Regions from separate parts of the Homo sapiens genome. Here region 1 is linked to region 2. The links are contacts of gene promoters, found by promoter capture Hi-C in human tissues and cell types (Jung and others, 2019). All regions are on one chromosome and are shown on one strand. Each heading gives the region's core, a stretch centred on a gene start or on the middle of the fragment in contact. The rest is flanking DNA. Distances are from core to core; before and after follow the strand shown.

Region 1 (7,225 bases), core at 3,128-5,627, 560 kb after region 2:
GGAGGCCGAGGCGGGTGGATCACGAGGTCAGGAGATTGAGACCATCCTGGCGAACAAGATCAAACGCTGTCTCTACCAGAAATACAAAAAATTAGCCGGGTGTGATCGTGGACACCTGTAGTCCCAGCTACTCAGGAGGCTGAGGCAGGAGAGGCGTGAACCCAGGAGGCGGAGCTTGCCGTGAGCCAAGATGGTGCCACTGCACTCCAGCCTAGGCGACAGAGGGAGACTCTGTCAGAGGGAGACTTCCATTGGCCAAAGCTGCTCCGAGAGATTATTGGCCAAGAAGGCCTTTGAGCTGGACCTGGCCAGATAGCCTTGATCTGCACAGGCATGGAGACACGCAGCCTCTGGGCCATGCCACGCCTAGGTGTGTGGGCAGGATTCACTGGGAATCACAATACTTAGGAGCAAAATGTGGCTCCTTCTTGGCCACCAACTTGAGGAGGGGTCATCAAACATGATGTTGAGCCTTCCAACAAACAGGGCCCAGCTGAACTGTGACACTCTGATACCCTGACAAATGCTCAACTCCTCTGCCAACCTCAGTTTTTCTAAGGTCAACTCTACAGAGAACAGAAAGAGCCAGAGATGTCGGGAAAAAAATGAGAGAAATTATGGATTAAAATATAATCTAAAATAATCATGGCTGGGCGCGGTGGCTCATGCCTGTAATCCAGCACTTCGGGAGGCCAAAGAGGGCGGATCACGAGGCCAGGAGTTCGAGACCAGCCTGGCCAATATAGTGAAACCCCGTCTGTACTAAAAACACAAAAAAATTAGCTGGGTGTGGTGGCAGGTGTCCGTAATTCCAGCTACTCAGGAGGCTGAGGCAGGAGAATCGCTTGAACCCGGGAGGTGGAGGCAGGAGTGAGCCGAGATCACACCATTGCACTCCAGCCCAGTCAATAGCGCAAGACTCCATCTCAAAAATAATAATAATAAAAAAATATATAGGCCGGGCTTGGTGGTTCACACCTATAATCTCAACTCACTGGGAGGCAGAGGTAGGAGGATTGCTTGAGGCCAGAAGTTCAAGATCAGCCTGGGCAGCACAGCAAGACTACATCTCTGGCCAGGCGCGGTGGCTCACGCCTGTAATCCCAGCACTTTGGGAGGCTGAGGCGGACGGATCACGAGGTCAGGAGTTCAAGACCAGCCTGACCAACATGGTGAAACCCCCATCTCTACTAAAAATACAAAAATTAGCTGGGCATGGTGGCGCGTGCCAGTAATCCCAGCTACTTGGGAGACTGAGGCAGGAGAATCACTTGAACCAAGGAGGTGGAGGTCATCCGTGGTTGAGACCCACTGTCTCCTTTTTTTTTTTTTTTTGAGACGGAGTCTCGCTCTGTCACCCAGGCTGGAGCACAGTGGTGTGGTCTCGGCTCACTGCAAGCTCCGCCTCCCGGGTTCACGCCATTCTCCTGCCTCAGCCTCCTGAGTAGCTGGGACTACAGGTGGCTGCCACCACGCCCGGCTAATTTTTTGTATTTTTAGTAAAGCCAGGGTTTCACCGTGTTAGCCAGGATGGTCTCGATCTCCTGACCTCGTGATCCGCCCACCTCAGCCTCCCAAAGTGCTGGGATTACAGGTATTAGACACCACGTCTGGCTCATCTTTTTTTCTTTTAATTAAAATTTAAAAATTAAAAAAAAATAATCATATGGACAAACCCCTAGAGAGCAGAGGAAGGAATAATTAACACTGCCCAGGGGAGTCGGAAGAAGCTTTGGAGGAGGATTGAACTGAGAGAAAAAGATTGGCAGGAGTTTGTTGTGCAAAGAAGGGGAGGGACAGGTGTTTCACCGGAGGGAGCAGCATGTTCAGGGACACACAGCTGTGAACAGGCAAATTGTTGAGGAACGCTGAGAAGTTTGCCTGGACCCGAGGACGAACAGGGAGGCAGGAAGTGAGGCAGGAAAGGCCAGTGGGCAAAACGGAACATGAGACCTTGCTGTGACCTTCAGACAATCTAAACTGCTTGAGAGGTTGAGAAGCTTTGCATTTGGAAGGGAAATTAGCATTTGTGCTGAGAAATAAAGCCGTGCATGGAGCGACAACTCTGTGTCCAGAGCTTTACAAGCATTTGCTCTACATCACAATAAAGTGTGTATTTCACAGACAGGGACACAGAGCTATGGTCTTTCTGCAGTGCAAGCTCTCTGCGAGCAGGGAACACGACCCCAGCACAGCCCTACCAGCTCCTTTGAGGGTGAGGACACCCTCACTTGGGAAGAAGCAAGTTGGAGCTTTATTTTATTTATATATTTATTTAATTAGTTATTTAGTTATTTATTTATTATTACTATTGAGACAGGCTCTCACTCTGTCACCCATGCTGTAGTGCAGTGGCGTGATCTTGGCTCACTGCAGCCTCCACCTCCCAGGCTTGGGTGATCCTCCCACCTCAGCCTCCCTGGTAGCTGGGACTACAGGCATGAGCCACAATGCCTGGTTAATTTTTTGTATTTTTTGTAGAGATGGGTTTGCACTATGTTGCCCAGACTGGTCTCAAATTCCTGAGCTCAAGTGATCTCCTGGCCAGCACTGTGGGAGGCTGAGGTGGGAGGATTGCCTGAGTTTGGGGAAGTTGAGGCTGCAGTGAGATCATGCCACTGCACGCCAGCCTGGGCAACAGTGTGACACCCCATATGAAAAAAACAAAAAAACTGTTGGATGAAGTTTTCTGTAAATATTAATAGTTATTTTAGTTGTCTCTTGGCTTTGGCCAGCACCTTTGGGGAGTATCTCCCAGGCTGTCTGTGGTTCACCAAAATCATGTGGAAAAGGAAGGGGCTCCATTCACTCACTTCCATAGTGATACCCAGGGTGAGAGTGCTCCATAGAGCACTCCCCCGACAGGCAGGCTGCTGAGGGAAGACTTCCTGGAGGGCAAGAGGCCTAGATGACCCAACTAGGAAGAGAGGGAGAAGTGGAGGGGTAGAGTGGGAGATGAGCTCAGGAATGAGGGCAGGGTCTGGTGGAGGCTGCTTGGAGAGGCCACTCAGAGGGAAGAATACCTGCTCCTGGCTCTGCCTGTCACCTCTTGGTTCCTTGTTTCCTCATCTGCCTCAGCAGGCTTCTCTGACCGGGTGGTGGGCAGTGGGAGAGGGTGGAGGAACGACCTTCGCCTCAGCCAGAGTATGGGGCAGGCCCTCTGTGGGGACAGCTGCTTCATGGCTTAGCCTTAGCTGATTATGGTGGCCTCACCATGCCTGTCTGTCCATCTGGAAAATGGGCTCAATAATGGTATCTGCCTCATAGGGTTTCACGAGGACTCGAGGGAGATGACTTTTGCTGCTGTCTTGATTTTGTCTGTTGTTTTTGTAGTTACACAGAGGATAACAGATGAATCAGACACTGAACCTGCCCAACCCTATGTGCTGGACTCATCATAATCATACCTGGGACTTTTGAGAACTTACTGGAACTGTGCTACGTACCCTATATGTATTAAGTCATTTAATTTCCTTTCCTTCCTTCCTTCCTTCCTTCCTTCCTTCCTTCCTTCCTTCCAGACAGAGTCTCGCTTTGTCGCCCAGGCTGGAGTGCAGTGGCACGATCTCAGCTCACTGCAACCTCCGCCTCCCGGGTTCAACCGATTCTTCTGCCTCAGCCTCCCAAGTAGCTGGGATTACAGGAATATGCCACCACGCCCAGCTTATTTTTATATGTTTAGTAGAGATGGGGTTTCACCATATTGGACAGGCTGGTCTAAGTCATTTAATTTTCAAACCACCCTGCTATTTATCCACACTTTACAGATAATGAATCTGAAGTTTCCATCCACCCATCCCCTCCTCCGCTCAGGCGCTCACCAAATCTTACACTCATGAGGTGCTCAGTAGCCTGTGCTTTGGGGCAGCCCACACTTCTTAGCACACCTGGCCCTCCTGACCCAGCCAGATGTCTGGGCAGGCCTCGGAGCTCCCAGACCAGTCACCGCACCCTGTTTCAGCCGCACCTGGCCACCTTCCCTCCCCCGCTGGGTAGCTTGGCAGCTGCCAAGGCTCCTCATTCTTCCTCCTGCACACCCAGCTGTTTGGGCACTGGCAAATGCCAGGCAGGTGAGGTGCCTCAGCTTCCATCGGCCCTGCTACCCTTGCCCTCGAGGTGCAGCATAGGCGTGGGGTGGGGAGCAGGGGAGAGACAGGGTGTCTCCCAAGCTCAGGAGCGCTGAGACTAGACTGCAGCTGAATCACAGCATTAACCCATCTAGAACCAGGGCTCAGGAGAACAAAAATGCCTGTGCATGGCCAGCTGGATCGAGGGAGAGACATGATGCCCAAGAACCTGAGTACCCAGGAGGTGCCCTCTGCCCAGATGTGGGAACAATTTCTCTCACTCATCAAACTTAGATCAAGTGGCCCCAATCTCTTCCTTTATTCTCAACTATTGGTTCAGGACCCATCATGAGGTCAGGAAGGAGAGGGAAAGCAGGGTCTTCCTGCCATAAATTAGTACATTAAGTCTTTCTTTCTTTCTTTCTTTTTTTTGACAGTCTCACTCCATCGCCCAGGCTGGAGTGCAGTGGCACCATCTCGACTCACTGCAACCTCCACCTCCGGCGTTTAAGCGATTCTCCTGCCTCAGCCTCCTGAGTAGCTGGGATTTCAGGCGCCCAGCACCACGCCTAGCTAATTTTTGTATTTTTTAGTAGAGACAGGGTTTCGCCATGTTGGCCAGACTGGTCTCGAGCTCCTGGCCTCAAGTGATCCACCTGCCTCGGCCTCCCAAAGTGCTGGGATTACAAGTGTAAGCCACTGCGCCCAGCCAGAAATTAAGTCTCATAGAAATTCAATGTTGGGCCGGCGCGGTGGCTCATGCCTGTAATCCCAGCATTTTGGGAGGACGAGGAGGGTGGATCACCTTTAGTCTCTACTAAAAATACAAAAATTAGCTGGGCGTGGTGGCCCATGGCTGTAATTCCAGCTACTCGGGAGGCTGAGGCAAGAAGAATCGCTTGAATCTGGGAGGCAGAGGTTACAGTGAACTGAGACCGCACCACTGCACTCCAGCCTGGGTGACAAGAGCAAAACTCCGTCTCAAAAAAAAAAAAAGAAAGAAAGAAGAAGAAATTTAATGTTGGTGTCACCAAGAGATTGCTTCTGGACTCAGTAAATTGAAGCCCAAATTTGGAACTGAAGGCCAGAGGTGAGCAACCTGTCCCAGTGCTCTGCAAGGCGGCCGATGCCAAGCCAGCACCCTTCCCACCATTCTGTGCTGCTTTGTGTTAGAGGAAGGAAATGTCCTGTGTGAATGTACTTTTAACAAAAAGAGAAGACAAAAATAGCCAAAGAATGCTATAAAGGACCCTGAAAATAATCTCCCATTTGTTCAGGGACCACTGAGTTCCTTGGTGGGGTGGACCCAGTGTCCTGCAGAAAGGAGACAATGGCTCAGGCCTTCAAGGATTTTCTTCCCTCCAGACCCACTCCTGTGGGGCTCTTTCCATCGGGGCTCAGGCCTGGGGGTGTTTCCTCACCCCAGTATTCCTGGAAACTCCACCTATCCCACAATTTCCCTGTCTCACTCACCATTCTGCAGCCAGAGGCAGGGCTTGTCAGTGAGGTAGGTGGGGCCAGAGCAGAGGCTTCATGTTTGGTGGCAGCAGGAGTTACCAGGCTAAGGCCTGGAAAGTCCAACACAGAGCTCTGTCCCTATCACTAACTCTGAAGCTCGCGCTCGGTGGCTTCCTGAAATTTCCCCTTCCAACTTCCCACCAGTCAGCCTACTCTCCACCTCCCTGAGAAGCAAGCTCAGCAGCCCATCTCTTGAGAAGGTGACTTGAAAGTGGGAGAAAGTCAAGAAAGAGTCTAGGCCACCAGACGCGGTGGCTCACGCCTGTAATCCCAGCACTTTGGGAGGCCGAGGAGGTCAAATCACCTGAGGTCAGGAGTTCGAGACCAGCCTGACCAACATGGAGAAACCCCATCTCTACTAAAAATACAAAATTAGCCGGGCATGGTGGCGCATCCCTGTAATCCTAGCTACGCAGGAGGCTGAGGCAGGAAAATCGCTTGAACCTGGGAGGTGGAGGTTGCAGTGAGCCGAGATTGCACCACTGCACTCCAGCCTGGGTGACAGAGTGAGTCTCAAAAAAAAAAAAAAAAAAGAAAGAAAGAAAGAAAGAAAGAAAAGAAAAACAAAGAGTCTGGCCTTAGAACCTGAAGCCCAAACATCTACTTCCGTCTCTGCTGTTTGTTAACTGAGTACCGGAAGCAACTCACCCACCTCCATGAGTATGAGTGTTTGCATCCATAAAATGAGGGTGAATTCCATCCTGTGAGAATCAAATGAAAATGGCCACATAGAAGAGAAAACAGCATCCCCAAAGTTAGTCCTCAGGAACTTAAGTCCAATGAGATACTCCATGGAGAAAAGTCTCCATGGGCAAATAGGTTTGGAAAATGCTCTGTCGTCTCTTGAAATTCATGATGCATGCTGGCAGGCCAAGCGCTCTGAGAAACCCTGCAATAAAGAGAACAGGTGAAAATTGTTTAACTACAGGTGTGTACCACCACACCCAGCTAATTTTTTGTATTTTTAGCAGAGACAGGGTTTCGCCATATTGCCCAGACTGGTCTTGAACTCTTGGCCTCAAGTGATTCTCCTGCCTTGGCCTCCCAAAGAGCTAGGATTACAGGTGTGAGCCACCGTGCCTGGCCATATCATGCCATTTATATAAGCGATTTGAGCGTCTTTGGATTTTGATATCAGTGGGGGTCCTGGAACCAACTCCCCACAGATACCAAGGGACAACTGTATTATTCAAATATATCTAAGTTATTCTAACATATGTTTTTTTTTTTTCTTTTTTCTTTGAGATGGAGTCTCGCTCTGTAGCCCAGGCTGGAGTGCAGTGGAGTGATCTAAGGTCACTGCAAGCTCTGCCTCCCGGGTTCATGCCATTCTCCTGCCTCAGCCTCTGAGTAGCTGGGACTACAGGTGCCCGCCACCACGCCCAGCTAATTTTTTGTACTTTTAGGAGAGATGGGATTTCACTGTGTTAGCCAGCATGGTCTCAATCTCCTGACCTCGTGATCCACCTGCTTTGGCCTCCCAAAGTGCTGGGATTACAGGCGTAGGCCACCGCGCCCGGCCTCTAACATATGTTTTATGCTGCTATAACAGAATACATGAGACTGTAATTTATTTACATTTATTTAAAATAGAGACAGGGGTCTCACTATGTTGCTCAGGCTGCTCTTGAAATCCTGGG
Region 2 (6,927 bases), core at 4,126-6,625:
TATGAGAACTGTCATGCAAGCACAGTGAGAATCAACCCTCTGGGTGGGTTTTAGCCTTTTTGTTGAGTGACTTTCTCCTGCCCTTGGGGACATTCCCAGGCTCCAACTCTTCCAATGACATTGCTGTTTCCATGGGAACCAGGCTGCTTCAAAGAGGAAAGATGTGGAAGGATACAGAGGCAGGCAAAGGAGGGAGGACATGAACCTCAGGGTGAATGACAGACAAGAGAAAGGGCTCCAGAAACGGGGAAATTATGCACCAGAAAACTGGCTACTCCACATCTAGAATAGGGTGGGGAGACATGGCTAGCAAGAAATTCTTCATTTTCCAACTGAGCCTCTGCCGTCATGGGGAGGCTATCTGTTTGAGGTTGCCAGGGAATGCAGACCCCTGTAAGTGGGGCCTCTACCCCGGTGTTCTAGAGAAGTTCCGCCACAGCTCTGCTCATTTCCCTGCAGTGGGTCAGGGTGACAGAGACAAAGGCACACTGCAGTCTGCAACCAACGGCTCAGCAGTCTCCTGTGAGTGGAATGCAAAAATAGTTTTCAAGCCGTGGCCAGGCCTGGGTGTACACAGCCAGGGGAGGAATCTGGTAGGGAGGCCCGAATGTGATCCTGGGATGGAAGCTAAGCAAGGGGAACTGGAGTGGACACGTGGAGAAGCCCTTGTGAGGCAGTGAGAGGCTGGTAGACCCATGCTGGCAGAGCCATGTAGCTTACTGAGGAAGACAATCTTATTCTTCCACTTGGGAATTTTCTGAGAGTTCCAGGAGATTCTGGGGACTTTTACAGCTCTCTAGAGGCAGCAAGGGCTCCAAATTTCATACTATTATGGGGAGTTCACTTTGAAGGTGAAAATTCCAGGCCTCCAATAGGATGAAAGATGATGATTTTGCAGAGAGGTTGCACAGCCCCCAGGCTGAAATCATCACTATAGTCCCCCAAACTGAATTTTGAGGAGCAAAATCACAGGGTTTCCTCATATTTCTGGTAGCCCTTAATCAACTGGCAAGTTAGTTTATTGCCATATTTTCTTTTTAAAAATAAAATTGCTACAATTTCTTAATCATAGTACCTCCTTCTGGCAATGGCTGGACCACTCCAAGAACTGTGTGGTCACATCCTATGAGTGACCCTAATGTCATGACCATTTATAATAAAGAACTTCGGCTGGGCGCGGTGGCTCACGCCTGTAATCCCACCACTTTGGGAGGCCAAGGAGGGCAGATCATGAGGTCAGGAGATTGAAACCATCCTGGCTAACACAGTGAAATCCCGTCTTTACTAAAAATACAAAAAATTAGCTGGGCGTGGTGGCGGGCGCCTGCAGTCCCAGCTACTCCGGAGGCTGAGGCAGGAGAATGGCATGAACCTGGGAGGCGGAGCTTATAGTGAGTCGAGATTGCACCACTGCACTCCAGCCTGGACGACAGAGTGAGACTCCGTCTCTAAAAACAACAACAACAAAAAAAAGAACTTCATAGAAAGAAACTGGAACTTAAGTTACAACGCCAAGGACAAAATACTCATTGCTTTCTACATGTTATTCTCTGATATACTACATCAAGACCTAAGGAACTTGAATTCATCATATACTTGCAGAACGAACAAGAACAAGAAGGATGGAGAATGACACTTGAAAAAGAGATACCCTGGCCGGGCGTGGTGGCTCACGCCTGTAATCCCAGCACTTTGAGAGGCTGAGGTGGGCGGATCACTTGAGGTCAGGAGTTTGAGACCAGCCTGGCCAATATGGTGAAACCCCATCTCTACTAAAAATAAAAAGAGACACACAGATGACAGAAATGCTCCATCTAGGACTAATGGAGACAACCCTCAAAGGAGTCTGAGGGCTCTCCTCCATTTCTACAGCCTGTAAAGGATGGAGACAAGCAAACCACCTGATCACCCCACCCTGGGATTCTTCCGGAATCAGGCTGCAAGCTCTCCAGCAAGTTAAATACCTCACTGTGAGGACAGTTCCTAAGAGTGAGGTGAGTAGGGTAATTACTGATGAGCTACAGACAATGCCCTTAGGAAAACTAAACTCTGAGTCTTTAAAAGGATTATGGATTTGATATCCCAAGGTAGACAAACATCAAAGTAGAAAGAAAAAAGCCACCTCCCAAAGTCAAGAAACACCCGCACATCTGCAATGCGAAGACTCTCAGCTTGATTTTATCTGTGTGAGTGGCTGCATTTTGGGGTCTGTTTCCAAGAAGGTCCTCCCTTTTGAGTTTGCGTGCCTACATTCCTTCCAGGGAACTGGCCCCTCCTCCCGCCGAGCACAAGGCATGGAGCGGTGTTCAACAGCTGTCTTTATCCCACAGAGTAGGTTTATGGGCCTACCCCTCTCACCAGTACCACCAGAACCCTCCAGCAAACACCCCTCAACCCAGCCCTTTTTCCAAAACTCTTAAAGAATTCCCTTCATTTTGCCTTTTTTTTTTTTTTTTTTTTTTTTTGAGACAGAGTTTCGCTCTTGCTGCCCAGGCTAGAGTGCAATGGCGTGATCTCGGCTCACTGCAACGTCCACCTCCTGGGTTCAAGCAATTCTGCCTCAGCCTCCCGAGTAGCTGGGATTACAGGCATGTGCCACCACACCCGGCTAAATTTTTTATGTTTTTAGTAGAGACAGGGTTTCTCCATGTTGGTCAGGCTGGTCTCGAACTCCCAACCTCAGGTGATGTGCCCACCTCGGCCTCCCAAAGTGCTGGGATTACAGGCGTGAGCCACCACGCCCGGCCTCATTTTGCCTTTGTAATTGAGGGTTTGGGTAAGGACACAACACACAGAGGAAAGACATAATCTTATTTCTGAGGAACCTCTCCTAGTGATAAGGTCACAGGAAGTGCATTTTACCAAGTAATTCTGTAGAAGAAGCCTGAGTGAACATTTCTCCACCTGGGAATCCTGCGACTGTACAACCTCTTGCAAGTTGTGCCTGTCACGCTGCCCTCTGTTTTGTTTTGTTTTTTTTTTTTTTTGAGATGGAGTTTCACTTTGTCACCCAGGCTGGAGGGCAGTGGCACGATCTTGGCTCACTGCAACCTCCACCCTCCGGGTTCAAATGATTCTCCTTCCTCAGCCTCCTGAGTAGCTGGGACTACAGGTGCCTGCCACCGCGCCCAGCTAATTTTTTGTATTTTTAGTAGAGATGGGGTTTCACCAACTTGGCCAGGCTGGTCTTGAACTCCTGACCTTAGGAGATCCGCCTGCCTCAGCCTCCCAAAGTGCTGGGATTACAGGCGTGAGCCAACGCGCCCGGCTACGCTGCCCTCTGTTGAGTCGGCCTCACATACACTCTTCAGTGTCCCTATGCACCTGCCTGCCATGCCCTTACCTGCAGAAGGCCCCTATGTTCTCCACCAGGTAGCACTGGCCGCCATTGTGACAGTAACTTGGGAAGAGGTCGCACACTGACCGGCAGGAGCCGTTATGCCGCACAAAGCCACTGCGGCACTCAGTGCCATTTTCACTGGAGGCCAAGTCCCTGCCTGGCTCTCCTGGGCGGGGCCTGAGGGCGATGCTGCTGCCGGGGACCGACCCCAGAGTGTGCTGTGGAGGGACAGCATGCCACCGACTGGTGGGCTGGCCTGTCCCGGGCCCCAGACCAGGCTTCCCAGTGGGCACTAGAAGCTCATTTTCATCTTCTAGGTCTCCACCTCCTACTGCATCTTTGTCATCCTCCTCTTCCTCCTCCTCTTCATCCAAGTCATCATAAAAGGATGTGGTGGGGTAGAAATCAGATTCATCGAAGGGGGTGAAATCATCGTATAAGTCAAGCAGGCTCCAGGAAGGGGTCTCTCCCTCAGTATCAGGGTGGTTCTCTGAGGTTCCTGGTGACCCTGGGAAGCTCCCCAGATCTGCGCCACGACCCTCACCATCCAGTCCTTCGAAGTAGTCGATGTCAATGATATCTGATGCCGGTTGGGGCTCCAGGGTGCCCTGAAATGGGTAAGTCAGCTCTGGCCCTTGAGGGTCGGGTGTGCTGCCCCCCAGGTTCAGCCAAACCTCCAAGGGGCTCTCCTTGGGGAGTTCAGAAGCTGGGCTCAGCTTGTCGCCGGGGGTGGGGGAGGGTGGCCCGCTGGCCTCTGTAGCCTCAGGAATGGCAGGGGGCATGATTGACTGCCCGAGGACCTCGTGGGGAGCCTGGAGCGTAGCTGGAAGGGCCTGGGCATCGCCGCTGCCCGCCTCTGCGGTCACTCCTCCCAGGCCTGGGCTGTCAGCTTCCAGCCAGGCGGTGCCGGTCACCGCAGCCGACTCCTGCAGCACCTCTTCTGGCCCGGCCAGCTCGCCACCGGGCGCCGTCCACGACGCCTCATCTTCCCCAGCCGCTGGTGGGCCGGCTTCTTCCCGCGTGTCGTTGGCAGGCGGCTCCCACGCCGGGCTGCCCTTCACCAGCTCTTCGGCCTCAACCGCGCTGCCCGCCTCACGCGCTGCGGGCGGGAGGGCAAGGGGCGGGACGTCAGGGCGGCGCGCTGAGGAGCCCTGGAGCCCCGGCCCGCCCCGGTCAGGCCCGCTCGCCTAGACCTGGTCAACCCAGACCTCGCCACCCTCAGACCCCACCGCCCCAGTGTGACCCCAGCCACCCGGTACCTCTAAGCCCCGTCCCGGAGTCTGCCCCCAAGACGAGGATCACACCCCGCCCAACGCCTCGCGGCTCGGCCCCGCCCGACCTGCCCCGCCGTCTGAAGAGCCAGGCCAGGGCGGCCCCCAGCTCGGCCCACCCATAAGTCTCACCCTCGGGAACCCACCCTGAGCCGCGTCCACTGGCTCCCGCCCTCAGCTCCAGGTCCCGCCCCGAAGTCTCACCCTCAGGCCCCGCCCCGGCCCCGCCCCGGCCCCGCCCCCGGCCCCGCCCCCAGTCCGCACCGCGGCCCGCGCGCTTGGGTCCCGGCTACCCCAACCGGGGTCGGCCCCCACGCGGGTCGGCCTTTCCCGGACCCCCACCACCTCCTGGGACCATTCCGCCGCCCGGCCGCGGCCAGGCGGTGCCCCGCCCCCTTGCCACAGCTCACAGCTCCACCTGTCCCCGCCGCCAGCGGGACCCCTGCCCTGGGTGGGGCACGAGGGCCGCGGGGGTCCCGGGCGCAGTCATACCTACCCGGCACGGCCCCAGAGGCCAGGACCAGCGCGGCCCCCAGAAACAGCAGCAGTGGCGGCGGCCCCCGGCCCGGGCCCCCGCCCCCGGCTCGCCCCATGGCGCGGCGCCCCGACCGCTGTCCGCGGTCCGCCCGGCTGGCTGCGCCCTCGGCTCGCCCGGCCGCCGCGCCTCCCGCCGGTTCTGCGGCCGCCTCAGCCCACGATGGGCAGCGCGAGGAGCCGCATGCCGCCGCCGCCGCCGTCCGCCGCTGTCCCCGGCGCGCCGCGCCTCCCCGCCTCCCGCGCCGCCGCTGCCGCCGCTGCGCTCAGCGCCGCCCTCACCCCGCCCGCCGCGCCGGCCCCGCCGCACGTAGCGGTGACGCCGGCCCCTTGGTCAGCCTGCCAGGGGAACAGACAGACCCCTCGCTGGGGACTAGGAGACACACGGACGGGGAGTGCGGGGCAGGCGGACGGGGAGCGCGAGGCAGGCGCACGGCGCGGCGCGCGGCGTTAGGCGGCAGGTGCACGGGCGGGAGACCTGTGGGATGGGGCCACGGTCCCGCCCCAGGTGAACAGGCGGCACGGGGCCCCGACCCGGAGGAACCCACCCGCCACGCGGCAAGCACGGAGGCGGGGACGTCGCGGGCCCAGTTACCCGCAGGGTCGGGGCGGGGTCCAGAAGAGCCGCAGGGGGCGGAAGCACGAGCCCCCACTGTGGAAACAAGCCAGGCCCGGGGCGCATGGAGCCTCTCGGATTCTGCACCAATCCCGTGTTCCGGGCGGGAAGGCTCTCAGGGAGGTCTCCGGGTCTCCACGAGGGAGGGGCGGGCGTTGGCAGAGCCTGGCAAGGGGGCGAAGCCGACCGCCCAGGCTCTAATCGGATCAGATCTAATCCGTTCGCAGCCAAAGCCACTAGCCTAGATCTCGCACAGCCAGGCCCGCCATAACGCATCCCGGGAGCAAGGGGTAAGACCCTCCCTGGGACTGCGGCTACCTCGCCTTCCTTCTAGTCTCCGGGCAGCCTGGGGAGCGGCCTTTAATCCTGGTCCCTTCTCCGGGATACGTCGTCCCCCAGGTGTCTCAGACCACCAAAACTCAGGTTCCTGGGTAGACCAGGGGGGTCTAGATCCCCAGCCGGGCACACATGGATGCTTGGCTTTAGAGTGATCTGTGGGGCCCATTCACAGCTTCAGGGCTCACAGGGCAACCCAAGACCACGCACCAGGAGGTCTGCTTAGTCGGCAGGAGGAACCGCAACCTAGTTACTTAGTTTATTCCCCCAAACCGACCGTCTACCCCTTAATGTGTTACTCACCCAAATGACAGTTCAGGGTATCAGCCCAAGGAGATAGGACAACTCCAGTATTTAAGAGACGGTCCCATTGCTGTCTTAGAAGACCAAATAAGTGACCAAGATGGAGATTCTATCTCCTAATCTTTCTGATACATATCTCCAGATGGAGTTGCCTTGGTTCAAAACCTGTTTCTCAGCAGAACTATGGCTGCAGCCTATTTGCCTAGCCTAGCGTCTCCACCTCTCCTGCCTGGTAAACTCCTCATGCCAGAAAAACTCAGTTCTTATCACCTTTCCCTCTATGAAGGCTTCTCAGCAGTTACACTTAATGCCCATCATCTCATCTTATCTACAGTTATTCCTCACTGGACTGCAAGGCACTTGAGTGCACAGGGCTGGTAACAGAGGGAGGCTCCATATCAGACAGGCATAAATGAACGAATGGCAACCACCCACACCCATCCCAGAACTGTGGTCTGGAGAGCCTTGAAAAAAGGGGTAAGGCTCTTTCTTTCATAGTTTCATGCTGCCTCCGGGGACCAAGTAAA

The links. The method cuts DNA at HindIII sites, captures the fragments that hold promoters and counts their contacts. A contact is called where the count stands out against the background at its distance.
Region 1: a contact is called between a fragment that was not itself captured here and the fragment with the promoter of CSPG5 in region 2, in 1 of the 25 tissues and cell types used here (bladder).

Annotation. Positions count from the first base shown.
Region 1 is chr3:48,138,558-48,145,782 of GRCh38, forward strand. No RefSeq gene overlaps it. Among named protein-coding and RNA genes, the nearest start is that of CDC25A, 46 kb to the right of the region's middle. The HindIII fragment of the contact is 7,474 bases long and covers 641-7,225 here.
Region 2 is chr3:47,573,490-47,580,416 of GRCh38, forward strand. It overlaps CSPG5 (chondroitin sulfate proteoglycan 5), which reads right to left and starts at 5,376. Exons shown (of 5, transcript NM_006574.4): 1 at 5,108-5,376; 2 at 3,344-4,439. The coding sequence starts at 5,204. RefSeq lists silencers at 2,690-2,984, 4,587-4,676, 4,727-4,786, 4,827-4,876 and an enhancer at 6,001-6,705. The HindIII fragment of the contact is 21,614 bases long and covers 1-6,927 here.